3 separate regions of the Homo sapiens genome follow, and all the other regions are linked to region 1. Evidence: promoter capture Hi-C in human tissues and cell types (Jung and others, 2019). All regions are on one chromosome and are shown on one strand. The core of a region is centred on a gene start or on the middle of the fragment in contact, and the rest is flanking DNA. Distances in the headings are between cores, read along the strand shown. Region 1 holds the start of SCARF1 (scavenger receptor class F member 1). Region 2 overlaps SMG6 (SMG6 nonsense mediated mRNA decay factor). Region 3 overlaps SMG6 (SMG6 nonsense mediated mRNA decay factor).

Region 1 (4,170 bases), core at 872-3,371:
AGAGGAAGCAGAGAGCAGGTAGGTCCCTGCCTGCATTCCCACGGAGCCAGGCCTCCCTCCCTCATTCTGCTGAGCCTGATGACCCAGCCTGGTCACCCTCTGAGCCCATTGTCTCAGACTGAGGCTGTCACCCCAACCCGGTCACCCCTTGAGCCTCCCTAGCCTGGCCGCTTCTAGGGCCTGCTGACCTGCTCTGGCTGTGTCCCATGGCCGCTGTCCAGCCTGCGCCCTTCTCCCTGGATCTCACCACTCCCCTTGCCTTGCCTGCCATCCATTCTGCCTGACAACACTGCCTCTCCACATTCATTCTTCAAGTTCCTGTCTTGGCTGGGTCTGTTTATTCTTACGGGGGTGAAACTGTAGCCGCGGCTGTGTCAGGGCCTGCTGTGTGTCAAGCTATAAAATAAACCCTTGGCAGGGCGCGGTGGCTCACGCCTGTAATCCCAGCACTTTGAGAGGCTAAGGTGGGTAGATCACCTGAGGTCAGGAGTTCGAGACCAGCGTGGCCAACATGGTGAAACTCCGTCTCTACTAAAAATACAAAAATTAGCCGGGCATGGTGGCATGTGCCTATAATCCCAGCTACTCAGGAGGCTGCGGCAGGAGAATCGCTTGAACTTGGGAGGCGGAGGTTGCAGTGAGCTGAGATCGCACCACTGCACTCCAGCCTGGGCGACAGAGTGAGACCCTGTCTCAAAAAAAAAAAAATTAAAAATTAAAGGCTCGACATCCTGCATCTCCCCAGGGTTGCCTTCTCTCCAGCCCCGGGGGCCCTGCAGTCCCTCCATCCCCCCTGCTGGATTCCTGTTGTCCCTCAGGGCCTTGATCAATGGCCCTCACTTCTCCTCTCTCCTCTGTCTCAGTGAGGATGAGGCTGGCCCATGGATCCTGCTCTCCGATGACAAGGGAGACCATCCCCCACCCCCGGAGTCCAAAATACAGAGTTTGTATGTTGGGGAAAGGGGAAAGGCAAGAGTGTGGGGAGGGAGGAAGGGCCCTGGCTGGTCCTTCTCAGGATCCCCTTTCCCGCTTCTCTGCCCGTCACCCTGCTGTGCTTGGCTCTAAGCACACCGTCCCCTCCTGCTTCTCTGGCCCTGGCCCCCATCACCTTCACACTCCCTCAGGCTGCCCTTTCTTCCCCCTCTCCCCTTTTCTCACCATCCCCTGCCCTCACCCATATCCTTGACCTCTCTGGCTTCCTGGCTCAAAGTGCCTCTGGCTGTCTCTCTCCAGCTTTGGCCTATGGTATCGGGGTAAAGCTGAATCCTCTGAGGATGAGACCAGCAGCCCTGCACCCAGCAAGCTAGGGGGAGAAGAGGAGGCCCAACCACAGTCTCCAGCTCCTGATCCGCCCTGTTCTGCCCTCCACGAACACCTTTGTCTGGGGGCCTCAGCCGCCCCAGAGGCCTGACTTAGGGGTCTGGCTGTGGAAGGATGTGTGGCCTCAAATGAGGACAGGGCTCCCGCCTTCACAGCCCTCGCCAGGGGTCTGCCCCAATCCTGGCCTGCATCAGGGCAGGACGGGGTCTCAGCCCGCCTCCCTCTCTACGTCTCTGTACCGAGCCTCTGGGGCCAGATATAAGAGTGCCTCTCTGAGTCTCAGTTTCCCCATCCATGAAATGAGAGCTGACTGCCTAGCTCCCAGGGCTTTGTGCAGACGGCCTGAGCTCATGTAATAAAGAACTGCCCGTAATACACAGAAACTGTTCCTCGCCTGTCTGTCCATGTCTGTGCCACCTCCCAACCCTGCCAGGAGCAGAGGCAGGCTGAGGGGTCCTCGCTGGTCTCCTTGCTCAGTCACTGGGTGGGGTGGCTTCTTGCAGCTCAGGCCTTGCTTTGGGAGTGTGGCCTGATGGAAAGCCGTGGCTCCCAGCCTCAGTCCACCCCCTTCCCTGGCCCCGGCACCCAGGGACCTGCAACTTCATTCTTCTGGCCCTTCCAGGCCCAGGCCAGTCAGCCCTGCCATTGCCTTTCTTTCCCTTTCTTTTTTTGAGTGTCAGTCTTTCCAGCCACCCCCTCCCTCTCAGGGAGGTGCCTCGTGGCAGCCCGCCCCTCCGGCCTGGTTTCCTCAGGAAAAGCCCTGAGAGGAAGCAGGGAGGGGGTTGGGAGCTGTGGGGGCCAGACGAACCCGAGCGCTCCCACCGAGCTGCCTGCCATGGGGCTGGGGCTGCTGCTCCCGCTGCTGCTGCTCTGGACTCGGGGGACTCAGGGGTCCGAGCTGGACCCCAAAGGGCAGCACGTCTGTGTGGCCAGCAGGTGGGTCTCGTGGGAGTCTGATGCGTGTGGCCAGCAGGTGGGTCTCGTGGGAGTCTGATGCGGGTGGCTGAACCGGTGTTGAGGCCGTTAGGGGAAGGAGGAGACTAGGAAGGGGGCTTAGGCTGAAAGGAAGGGACTGCTGATGGCGGTCTGGCAGGTAGTGGCCAGCCAGGGCAGATGGTGGAAGGGTCAGGGAAGGAGAGGGGAGGGGCTGGGGACCCTAGCTGTAAAGATCCATTAGGCCTCCCCAGGGGGCTAAGGCAGCCTCCCCCACTGCAGCCAGAGACAGTGATCCACCTTCCTCAGGGCCAGGCTGCACCCCCCACCATGTCCGGCTGACCCCTTTTTGCCCCACAGCCCCTCTGCTGAGCTGCAGTGCTGCGCAGGCTGGAGGCAGAAGGATCAAGAATGCACCATCCGTGAGTAGCCAGGACAGACCCTCAGCCAAGGAGAAGGGAGGCCGTAGCCCAGTGACAACCCTTCCTTCCTACCCCATGGGGCCTGCCCCTCCTGATACCAGGAGTCAGGGTTTCTCCTGTGACGCACCCCCAGGCCTGAAGGGGCACCTCTTGAGGAGGCATGGCCCCTGGAGCCAGTGAGAGGGCAGGGGTGTCCCCTGGTCCTGCTCCCGTCTTTCCAACCTGGGTGGGGTGTCTTTCAGCCATCTGTGAGGGGCCGGACGCCTGCCAGAAAGACGAGGTGTGTGTGAAGCCGGGCCTCTGTCGATGCAAGCCTGGATTCTTTGGGGCCCACTGCAGCTCCCGTGAGTCTCAAGGGCCAGATGAAGTTGCTGGGCAGAGCTGGGTACGGGGGCAGTGGTGTGGGAGCAGGCGAGGCAGGTAGCCATGCAGCCTCAGGACAGCAGGGCCAGAATCCCCCCCAGCTTCACTGAGGAATTGCGGTCCAGAGACAGGAAGTGACACACACTCCCGGGAGATGACCTGAGTCACCGGGTTTTTACCCACATCCACAAAGCACTGCCCACCTGAGCATCTTCCTCTTCCACTTCTCAGAAAACCTGTGATTCCCCTTCATTGTAAAATGAGTGTATTACTTGCCTTTCCCACATATACCTTATACATGGGCAGTGGATGGAAGGGGGCCCCTGGCTGGGCTCTCTGCCCTCTCTGGCAGAAAGAGAGGGAAGGGAAAGGGGTTGGGAAGCAGGAGAGCCAGAGGGTGGGCATCAGGAATCAAGGAATCACTAGGGGAAAGGTGGCTTCTCCCGACACCCTGGCGGGCAGTATCCAGGCCTGAGATCAGGAGAAAGCCAGCTCTCCTCCAGCCCAGCAGAGATCCATCTCGGCAGGGAGGAGCAGGCATGGAGGAAGGCCCACCAACCTCGGTGCCACGCTCTGGGCAAGTCCCCTGCCCACTCAGGATCTCTGAGTGTGTTCTGGAATGTGAAGTGGCAGGCTGAGCCTCCCACTAATGGCTAAGGGTTTTCTGTAGGTCAGAGCGGAGCAGGAAGTGAGTGTTGCCCAGGACAGGCTGCCGGATGTTCTGAGGGTCTGTCCCCGGCTCTTGGAGGATGGGCCCAGCGCCCCTTTTCCTTGAGGAAGGGGACGCAGGGTAAGGGTCTGCGCGCGGCCCTGAGCCCGCTGACCCCTCCCGTCCCCACCCCCGCAGGCTGCCCGGGCCAGTACTGGGGCCCCGACTGCCGTGAGAGCTGCCCCTGCCACCCGCACGGCCAGTGCGAGCCAGCCACGGGCGCGTGCCAGTGCCAGGCCGACCGCTGGGGAGCCCGCTGCGAGTTCCCGTGCGCCTGCGGCCCCCACGGGCGCTGCGACCCCGCGACCGGCGTGTGCCACTGCGAACCCGGCTGGTGGTCGTCCACGTGCCGCCGCCCGTGCCAGTGCAACACCGCGGCGGCGCGCTGCGAGCAGGCCACGGGCGCCTGCGTGTGCAAGCCGG
Region 2 (4,170 bases), core at 1,047-3,546, 620 kb before region 1:
ACATTCAGAAGAAAACCTAAAGCACCTGAAATGCACAGGGGACGAGAATGAGAGGTGATTAGAAGCCCAACACATGCACCAGTTCTTAGGTGGTAAGGCTAAGTTCTGAAGTTCATATTTCATTCTTTAAGATTGTCATATGCATTATTGGTGTTGTTTATAGCATACTCCATCACACTTTATTTTAACCAGCATCTCTAAATTAATATAAACAGACTAATGATTCAGGTAATACCCTAGAACAGGGATGGGCAAAATATTGCCAGTGGCCTATGAGCTAAGAATGGTTTTTACATTCTTATGTCAGGAGTTGTTTAAAAAGAGCAACACGAGACAGAGATGTACGTGGCTCACGAAGCCTAAATTATTTTCTGTGACCTTTTACAGAAAAAATTTACCACTGCTGTAAAAGCTGGGAGAGGTGAATGCAGTTAATGATAAGGTTCTTCTGTTAGGAAATTGATTGTTAATGAGAATGTTATCGCCTTTTAAGCAGACAGTTTTTTTTTTTTGAGAGGCAGTCTTGCTCTGTTGTCCAGGCTGGAGTGCAGTGGCGCAATCTCAGCTCACTGCAACCTCCGCCTCCCAGGTTCAAGCGTTTCTCCTGCCTCAGCCTCCCCAGTAGCTGGGACTACAGGCTCCTGTCACCACCCGCTGCTAATTTTTGTATTTTTAGAAGAGATGGTGTTTCGCCATGTTGGCCAGTCTGGTCTCGAACTCCTGACCTCAGGTGGTCAGCCTCCCAAAGTGCTGGGATTACAGGCTTGAGCCACTGTGCCCGGCCGACAGTTCTTCATTATGCAGGTCTGACCTTGCAGGATGTTTAGCGTTCCTGGCTCTGCTCATTAGATGCCAGTAACGGCCCACACATACTTCCAAACAGTTCCTGGGATGGGTGGTCATATTCTGGTTGAGAACCACTACTTTTGAAGCTTGACAAGGTCAAAAACATTTTGTTAAGGTTTACTCCTTCATTTCCTCTCAGAGAACCTGACTTGGGATTTGGATCTTGATGGCCTAGGGATTAACAATAGTGAGAGAATTTGAGTAGCTAGTGGAATAGGGAGAGTTTTCAGTAGGGTGGAATACAAGATTTTAAGGAAATTTTTTTTTTTTTTTTGAGATGGGGTTTCGTTCTGTCACCCAGGCTGGAATGCAGTGGCGCGATCTCAGCTCACTGCAACCTTCGCCTCCTGGGCTCAAGCAATCCTCCCCTCCCAGCCTCCTGAGTAGCTGGGACTACAGGCACACACCACCATGCCCAGCTAATTTTTGTATTTTCCGTAGAGACGGGGTTTCACCATGTGGGTCAGGCTGGTCTCAAACTCCTGGGCTCAAGCGATCCACCCACCTCAGCCTCCCAAAGTGCTGAGATTATAGCTATGAGTCACTGTGTCCAGCCTAGGAAGTAATTTAATGTTGCGTTTGTTGCTTGACACCTATTTTAAGAATTGAGATTGATTTGTGATTTATGAAAGGTTTGTTTTGATGTTGCTGGTGTTGTGAAAAGCACATTCCTCTCTATGTGAGAGATGGAGTAGCCATCTTTGGCCTTAATATCCAGATGATTTTGAGGTCTGTGGGAATCTGTATGGTGTACTTGAGGGACTTGTTCAAAGCCAATGTAAAGATGTAGTTTTGGCATCTCATGAATAACCTGATATCCCGACTTAAGCCAGAACTCTGGCATTAGAGAATTTTCCAGCTTGGGAGAGTTGACTGAGAAAAGTCCTCCTTTGGCTCCTTGCCAAGTTAGACAAGGGAGCAATCAGCTGCTGAGTTCCAGCCAACTGGAATGTACGTGAGGGGGTACTATAAATCGTCCCTTAGGATCCAGCTTGTGGTCTGTGAAGAGCCTTCCAAATAAGAATGAGACCTGTACATTGGATCCTTGTTCAATCTGCAGCTGCTATAGGAAGGAGTAGTGAGGTGATGTTACTCTGGGAGCAGCTCACTTTATATAGTAACACACTGCCTGTTATGTGGGGTAAGACTGCACTACCCTTTATGTTTTTCCCGTGTTGCGTTTCTCACCAACTTCCTATATTGGTTTTTGTTTCTGACTGTTCTCTTGGGGAGCTGTATCCATAGTTTGATCATTCTGTAAAATCCCTCTTTGCTCTTAAAGGTGCCAGAATTTCATCTCTCTACCCTCTTTTCAACATCTTAGATCTGATGTATTTGAGCTAAGATAGAGAATATGAAATCGTTGTTTTCTTGGCTCGTGATCCTTCCCCAGTCTGCGGGCTGTTTGTTTGACTCCAGGGGGAAACTCCAGGTTCTTCCCCTCTTGGAAGCCTTTCACTTTACTCATAAATATTTAGTATTGAAGTGAACTGTGCTCTTTTTTTTCTCCCTAGTATGAGTGGATAGACTCTCTAGACCAGAAAGAATTTAAAATACTATCTGTACCCTCTGTCTTTCTGATGTTTTGGTTCCTATAAAATGTATTAACCACACATTTTTATTTTTAAGAGCTTAAGTGGTTTTTTGAGTTGTCTTCCATCTTCTGATCCAAAATTTGTTGAGCATTTATTATAGAAATCACTAGGCACCTCTCCTGCTACTGTTTTTTCCGTGTCGTTCATGCTTAGAACCATCAGAGAGCTATGTAACTAGGTAACATTGGTTACTAGTAGTACTGCTTTTACTGATTTGTACTTGAGTGTGTCATCAGCCTCTATGAAGATACATAAAAAAGAGACCTAGAGAAGGATTGCTGTTTGTGTTGCGTGGTGTCTTTGTGGAAGCCTGTGGAAGAAATTTCTGCTCTTAGTAGAAAATGGGTTTCTTCAACCTCATGCACATTTGTAAGATTGTTATAATAGCAAATTTGTGAATTTTTAACCCAGAATGATTCTCTATTTTAATTGTTCCAGAGGTTGTAGCCAAACTTCCTTTAGTAAGTGTAAAGGGCGTTTATCTTCGGTCGTGACCTTACTGTTTGGTGACCTCTTTATCTTTTTCTCTTTGGCTTCTCTTTCTTGTTTTTATCTATTTTATCTTACAGTATAGTATATACCTTTGTATGTTGCCTAAAATAAGTGGCTTCAAAGTTTTATATAGATATTTTTTCTCTTTTCACTTGCCCATTTTGCTGTAAAACCTCCTCTGAGGCCAGCTAGTAGTCTCTGAGGAAATCAAGTTTTTCCCTGTCCCAATTCAGGTCATTTCCATAAATATTCATGGAGCACCTTTATATATTGTTATTCTAGGTACTGCACACAGAAAAGTAAGTGATGTTGGTCCTTCCCTCAAAAACACAGTCTAGTAAGAAAAAAGGATATGTAAATAAATACTTGCAATAAAGTGTTATAAATGTAATAATAGAAATATATACACTGGACAGAGGTAAAAGAGATTAACTCAGGGTGAACAGGTAGAGCGACCTAGAAAGGTAATCTTTGTCCTTAATTTTGCAAGTCAAAGAAGTATTTTAGGTAGATGTGGTCAGCTGACTTTTCTGGCAGAAGGAACAACATGGATAAAAACATAGCATGGTTCGAAACTGCAAGGAATGGTTGCTTCTGAGATTCCCAGCCAAGATTCTGTCATTATAATGTCTTGGGCCATGGTACAGATGTCCACATTGGTGCTGTCTGATCACTCAGTTGGAACTGAAGATTCATCACAATGTAGATAGATTTGAGCTTTTGATTTGGCTCAAGCTTAGAAGTGAATCCTTCAAATAGTTCTTTCTCTGCTTTATTTTATGTATTAGCAAAGGTTGACTCACTCTAAAGTCATGCCTTCCATCATTCTGGGAAGCTTTCTGAGCCAAGCCCAGCTTGGCTTAGGAATAAGTTATGCTTTGTGTTGTAATCATTGGCACTAAGTCCTATTCTTGACTTTCACACACACAGTAGGACTGCAGCTCCTGATGCGTATGGGAAAGAGGAATTGTGATAATACTCGCTATGGATTTACATTTTTCTGGGATTTTTTTTCTTGATAAAGATGCTAAAACCTTATTCTTGCTATTGAGATTTTGAGTTTACTTGTGCCACAAATCTCTGAGATGCTAGGTCCTAATTTGTCAAGCAAACTATGTTAACACATTTGACATTCTCTTCTGAGGAATGTCTTTGGCAGGTTTTCCTTTAGACTTCTGGACAGATCTATAAAACTCTATGGCTTTTGAAATACTTGCAAGTGACATATGTCAAAAGG
Region 3 (4,170 bases), core at 935-3,434, 580 kb before region 1:
CCCATTGAAGATAGGTTACTACATCTTTGGGCTTTCACTGTTGTTGATTAAAGTCAGCTATCTGTTTTGTTTCTCTTTTGAAAGCAGCCTGTCTTTTCTCTCTAGGTGCTTTCCAGGTCTTTTTAAAATCTTTGATGTTCCACAGTTTTGGTGATTGGTCTAGGTTTGGATTTTTAAAAATTATTCCTGCGAAGTATTTGTCGGGCTTCATGTAACCTATGAGGTTGGTTGGTTGGTTGGTTGGTTGGTTGGTTGGTTTTCCTATCAGTTTTGGAAAACTCTTAGTGTCTTTTTTCAAAGACTGCATCTCCCCATGCTTTCTCTTCTCCTTCTGTGACCCTGATAAGACATACATCAGGCTTAGTTTTTGATGTCTCTTAAACCTTTCTTTGATTTTTCTGACTCCCTTCTTTTTGTGCTACATTCCAGATAATTTCCTTAACTATCTTTCAGTTCATTGAACCTTTCCATAGCTATATCTAACCTTCTATTAAATATGCCCCATTGACAATGTTTTTAATTTTAATAAATTTTTTATTTCCATATATTTTTTAAATCAAATCTGCTTTGACTTTCTTTATGGTTTCTTATTTCCCAAATATACTTGTGAGCTTGTCTTTTATTTCTCTAAAATATATTCAACATGGCATTTTAGAGACTCCATAATCTGAAATGGTGTATTTGGGGTGTAGCCTTGTGGGACCCTAGCTTTATGATAAGGATCTTGGCTGTGTCCATGCAGCCTTGGAAAGCAAAGCTCGAGTTCATCAGGTAGCAAATGTTCTTAGGGTAAAGGCTGTTTGTAATGCCACACTTACCTATCTGGTTTCCCATCTTTATTCAATCTCTGACCAAAGGATTTTCTTTTATTTTACTAGCTCACGAATGCTTTTCAAAAAGATGTTTAACATACTCTTTTTTTCAGAATAATGAGCTGTTTGATTGGGAGAATGGATCTAGGTGTCTAGTCTGCCGTACTACCAGAGGAAGCTGGGATTTCCTTGTTCCATCAGACTTACTCAGACTTTCTTTCTTTTCTTTTCTTTTTTTTTGCTCTGCCTGTGATGCCCATGAGCAGTGTGACTGGGCACCTACATCCAGGGTGGCAAGGGCATGTAGTTTGCTCTTCCAAAGATTAGTTTCTTTTCCAGCTCCTGCCCATTTACAGCTCAGTCTTATGGCAAATGGTGTCATTGGGCTCACATTTTTTCATTTTTCCAAGAGGTGTCCAGTGTATAGAATATCACTTAGAGGGCTAATTGGGTGGGGAAGAAAGATCAAAGGAGTGGAGAGGAAAGGCTGCAGCTGAAGTGATAGGAGCCATTTATTGACAAAAAGATGTGAGTTAGAGATTTGGAAAAGAGTACTCTGTTGTTTCAGCTACATCACATTATATATCTGGTGAACCTTGCTGGCCCATGAAATCCTTTCCATTAGTCAGGGTTCTCTGTGCTTTTGTTCTTGACTACTGCTGTTCTTAGTGCTATTCGGTTTGCTTGTATGTCTCAGTTTCCTTTTCAGAAGGCAGATTGTCGTCTATTTAGGAATGCATTTACTGTAATTGGAGTGTTCTGGCTTGTTTAGTCCCCTCTTCAAATATAAGACTCATATCTTGAAGCTTATGTTCAGAAAATATGCGCGTGTGATCCCTTTGCCCCAAGTGCCAACAGCAGATGTAGCAGTTGACACGCTGCAGGGAATTTCCAACTGCTGGGCAGGTTTCTGAAATCCGGACACGTGCTGTTCACACTTTGGCTTCTGAGGCAAGGATCAGTGGTTGAAAGAGGGGAGGAGCTGGCAGGGGACTGCAGGGAGAAAGATCTTATAATGCCTGCCCAGGGCTTTAGGCTGTGTCAGCTTTCTGCATCTCTTCTCCAGCTGGAGCTGGCAGGGTCGAATAAATCACTGCAGAGTAGTTATGAGCCCAGCTCACCAGGGACTTCTTTGAGGCACACCTGTGACGTCATCCTGTTATCACTGTCTGTTCCACATAACCTCTTTTCACCTCTCCCCTGAGAGAGGGTGATGCCCAGAACTCATGTCAGGGCAATGAGCAGAGGAAAATGTTTCGTAAGTATTATTTTTCAGATGCCTGCTAGGGATACAGTTGTAGGCCATTGACACATTCTTCAATATTCCTCATTGGAAGAGAAAACCTGTGTTTGCAAACATGGCCTGAATACCCCTTGTGGATAAAACTTCTTTTTAAACTTGGAAAGAAAGTCTTGAAACTCCTAAGTGGTCTCTTTTTGTACCCCTTACCTCTCTCGTTCCTTCCCAAACATGCACACACAGACACATTACATACAGAGTCTGCTGTGTTCAAAATCCTTCACTGACTTCCCATTTCACTCAGTGTAAAAGCCACATTATTTACAAGGCCTTCATATATGGACCTCTTCTCCTGCCCCCCCCCCCCCCCCCCGCCCCCGCATTGCCTCTCTCTGAGCTCATTCACGACTGTTCTCCCCATGGCTTGGTTACTCTGCTTCAGCCACACTACCCTTCTTGCAAGTTCTCTGCTAAGCTGGGGACTCTCCCACCTTTGGCCCTTCGCATTAGCTGTTTTCTCTGTTTGGAATGTTCTGCATCCAGCCATCTGTCTGGTGAATACCTCGCCTCCTATAAGTCTTTGCTTAATGTTACTTCTGTGAGACCTGCCCCAACCATCCTATTTAACACTGCTGCATTCTACTCCAAACCTGCACTCTTTATCTTCCAATTCTATTGATTTATTTTCTAAATACTAGATAATTAATGTGTATATGTTTATTATTTATTTTCCTCTACTATTCTGCAAGAATGTAAGCTCCCTGCTTATAGGGGTCTCTGGTCTGTTTTATCCACTGATACATTGTGAACATCTAAAACAGTCCCTGACCTGTTGTAACTTCTCAGTAAACATGCGTTATATCAAGTTCAAGTCAAAGAATAATTTGAGGCCAGGTGCCGTGGCCGACGTCTGTAATCCCAGCTCTTTGGGAGGCCAGTGCAGGTGGATCACTTGAGCTCAGGAATTCAAGACCAGCCTGGCCAACATGGCGAAACCCTGTCTTTACTAAAAAATACAAAAATTAGCCAGGCATGGTAGTAATCCCAGCTACTTGGGAGGCTGAGGCAGGAGACTGGCGTTAACCCGGGAGGTGGAGCTTGCAGTGAGCCGAGATCACCCCATTGCACTCCAGCCTGGGCAACATTGCAAGACTCCGTCTCAAAAAAAAGAATAATCTGTCAGCAGGTCAGCCTGGACAATGAAGATTGAATGGCAAGGGCAGGGGCATCTGTTAACTAGGTTACTGCTCATAATCTTACTGTCTTTCCTTGTTTTTTGTTAAGGTGACTTTCTTGAAAGCATAATTTCCAAATGCATATTTTACATCTGGCATTAAAGTAAAATCCATTAAATGTGCTTTGGTATCTACTGTTGTATTAATCCTTTCTCATACTGCCATAAAGACATACCTGAGGCTGGGTAATTTATAAAGAAAAGAAGTTTAATTGGCTCATAGTTCCACAGGCTGTACAGGAAACATGGCTAGGGAGGCCTCAGGAGAATCACAATCATGGTGGAAGGCAAAGAGGAAGGAGGCACGTCTTCCATGGCTGGAGCAGGAGGAAGAGAGTGAAGGGGGAGGGGCTACAGACTTTAAAACAACCAGATGTCCCGAGAGCTCCATCAGGAGATAGCACCAGGAGGATGGTGCTAAACCATCAGAAACCACCCCAGGATGCAGTCACCTCCTACCAGGCCCCACCTCCAGCACTGGAAATTACAATTCATCATGAGATTTGAGTGGAGACACAATCCAAACCATATCAGCTCTTAACCCTGGAGTAAATATCATTGGGGCTCTGGAAAGTAAATTTCTATAGAACAGCGTAAGTTCAGTCCTTTCTGGTCTCTTGAATCTTTCATCTTTTACTCTCTGTCCTTTCTTCCTGACTAGAAATACTTTTTTATTTCCCTACTCATATATCATATTTTTACATTCACCTAACTGGAGCAATTCTGTCCTATTTATGAAAACTAAATGATTTTTTTTAAAGGATTTAACATTTTGGGTTTCATTGAAAGTACTAAAAAAGGTAAAGTAGAAACCAACTTCTGGCAGTGACATTCTTTCCTATACGATGTATAAATATTCAAGGAGTTTTTACACAGTTGAAAAG

What was found. Contacts are between HindIII fragments. The study calls those that stand out against the background at their distance.
Region 2: a fragment that was not itself captured here is called in contact with the fragment with the promoter of SCARF1 in region 1 in 1 of the 25 tissues and cell types used here (dorsolateral prefrontal cortex).
Region 3: a fragment that was not itself captured here is called in contact with the fragment with the promoter of SCARF1 in region 1 in 1 of the 25 tissues and cell types used here (dorsolateral prefrontal cortex).

What each region holds. Positions count from the first base shown.
Region 1 is chr17:1,643,683-1,647,852 of GRCh38, reverse strand. SCARF1 (scavenger receptor class F member 1) reads left to right here and starts at 2,121. Exons shown (of 11, transcript NM_003693.4): 1 at 2,121-2,256; 2 at 2,614-2,675; 3 at 2,918-3,019; 4 at 3,886-4,170. The coding sequence starts at 2,156. It overlaps RILP (Rab interacting lysosomal protein), which reads left to right. Exons shown (of 8, transcript NM_031430.3): 6 at 1-18; 7 at 864-947; 8 at 1,234-1,703. The coding sequence ends at 1,411. The HindIII fragment of the contact is 19,188 bases long and covers 1-4,170 here.
Region 2 is chr17:2,261,852-2,266,021 of GRCh38, reverse strand. All of the region lies in intron 8 of SMG6 (SMG6 nonsense mediated mRNA decay factor), which reads left to right. Among named protein-coding and RNA genes, the nearest start is that of SMG6, 40 kb to the left of the region's middle. RefSeq lists an enhancer at 1-115. The HindIII fragment of the contact is 5,334 bases long and covers 1-4,170 here.
Region 3 is chr17:2,220,805-2,224,974 of GRCh38, reverse strand. The region is part of intron 10 of SMG6 (SMG6 nonsense mediated mRNA decay factor); the gene reads left to right. Among named protein-coding and RNA genes, the nearest start is that of SMG6, 81 kb to the left of the region's middle. The HindIII fragment of the contact is 7,215 bases long and covers 1-4,170 here.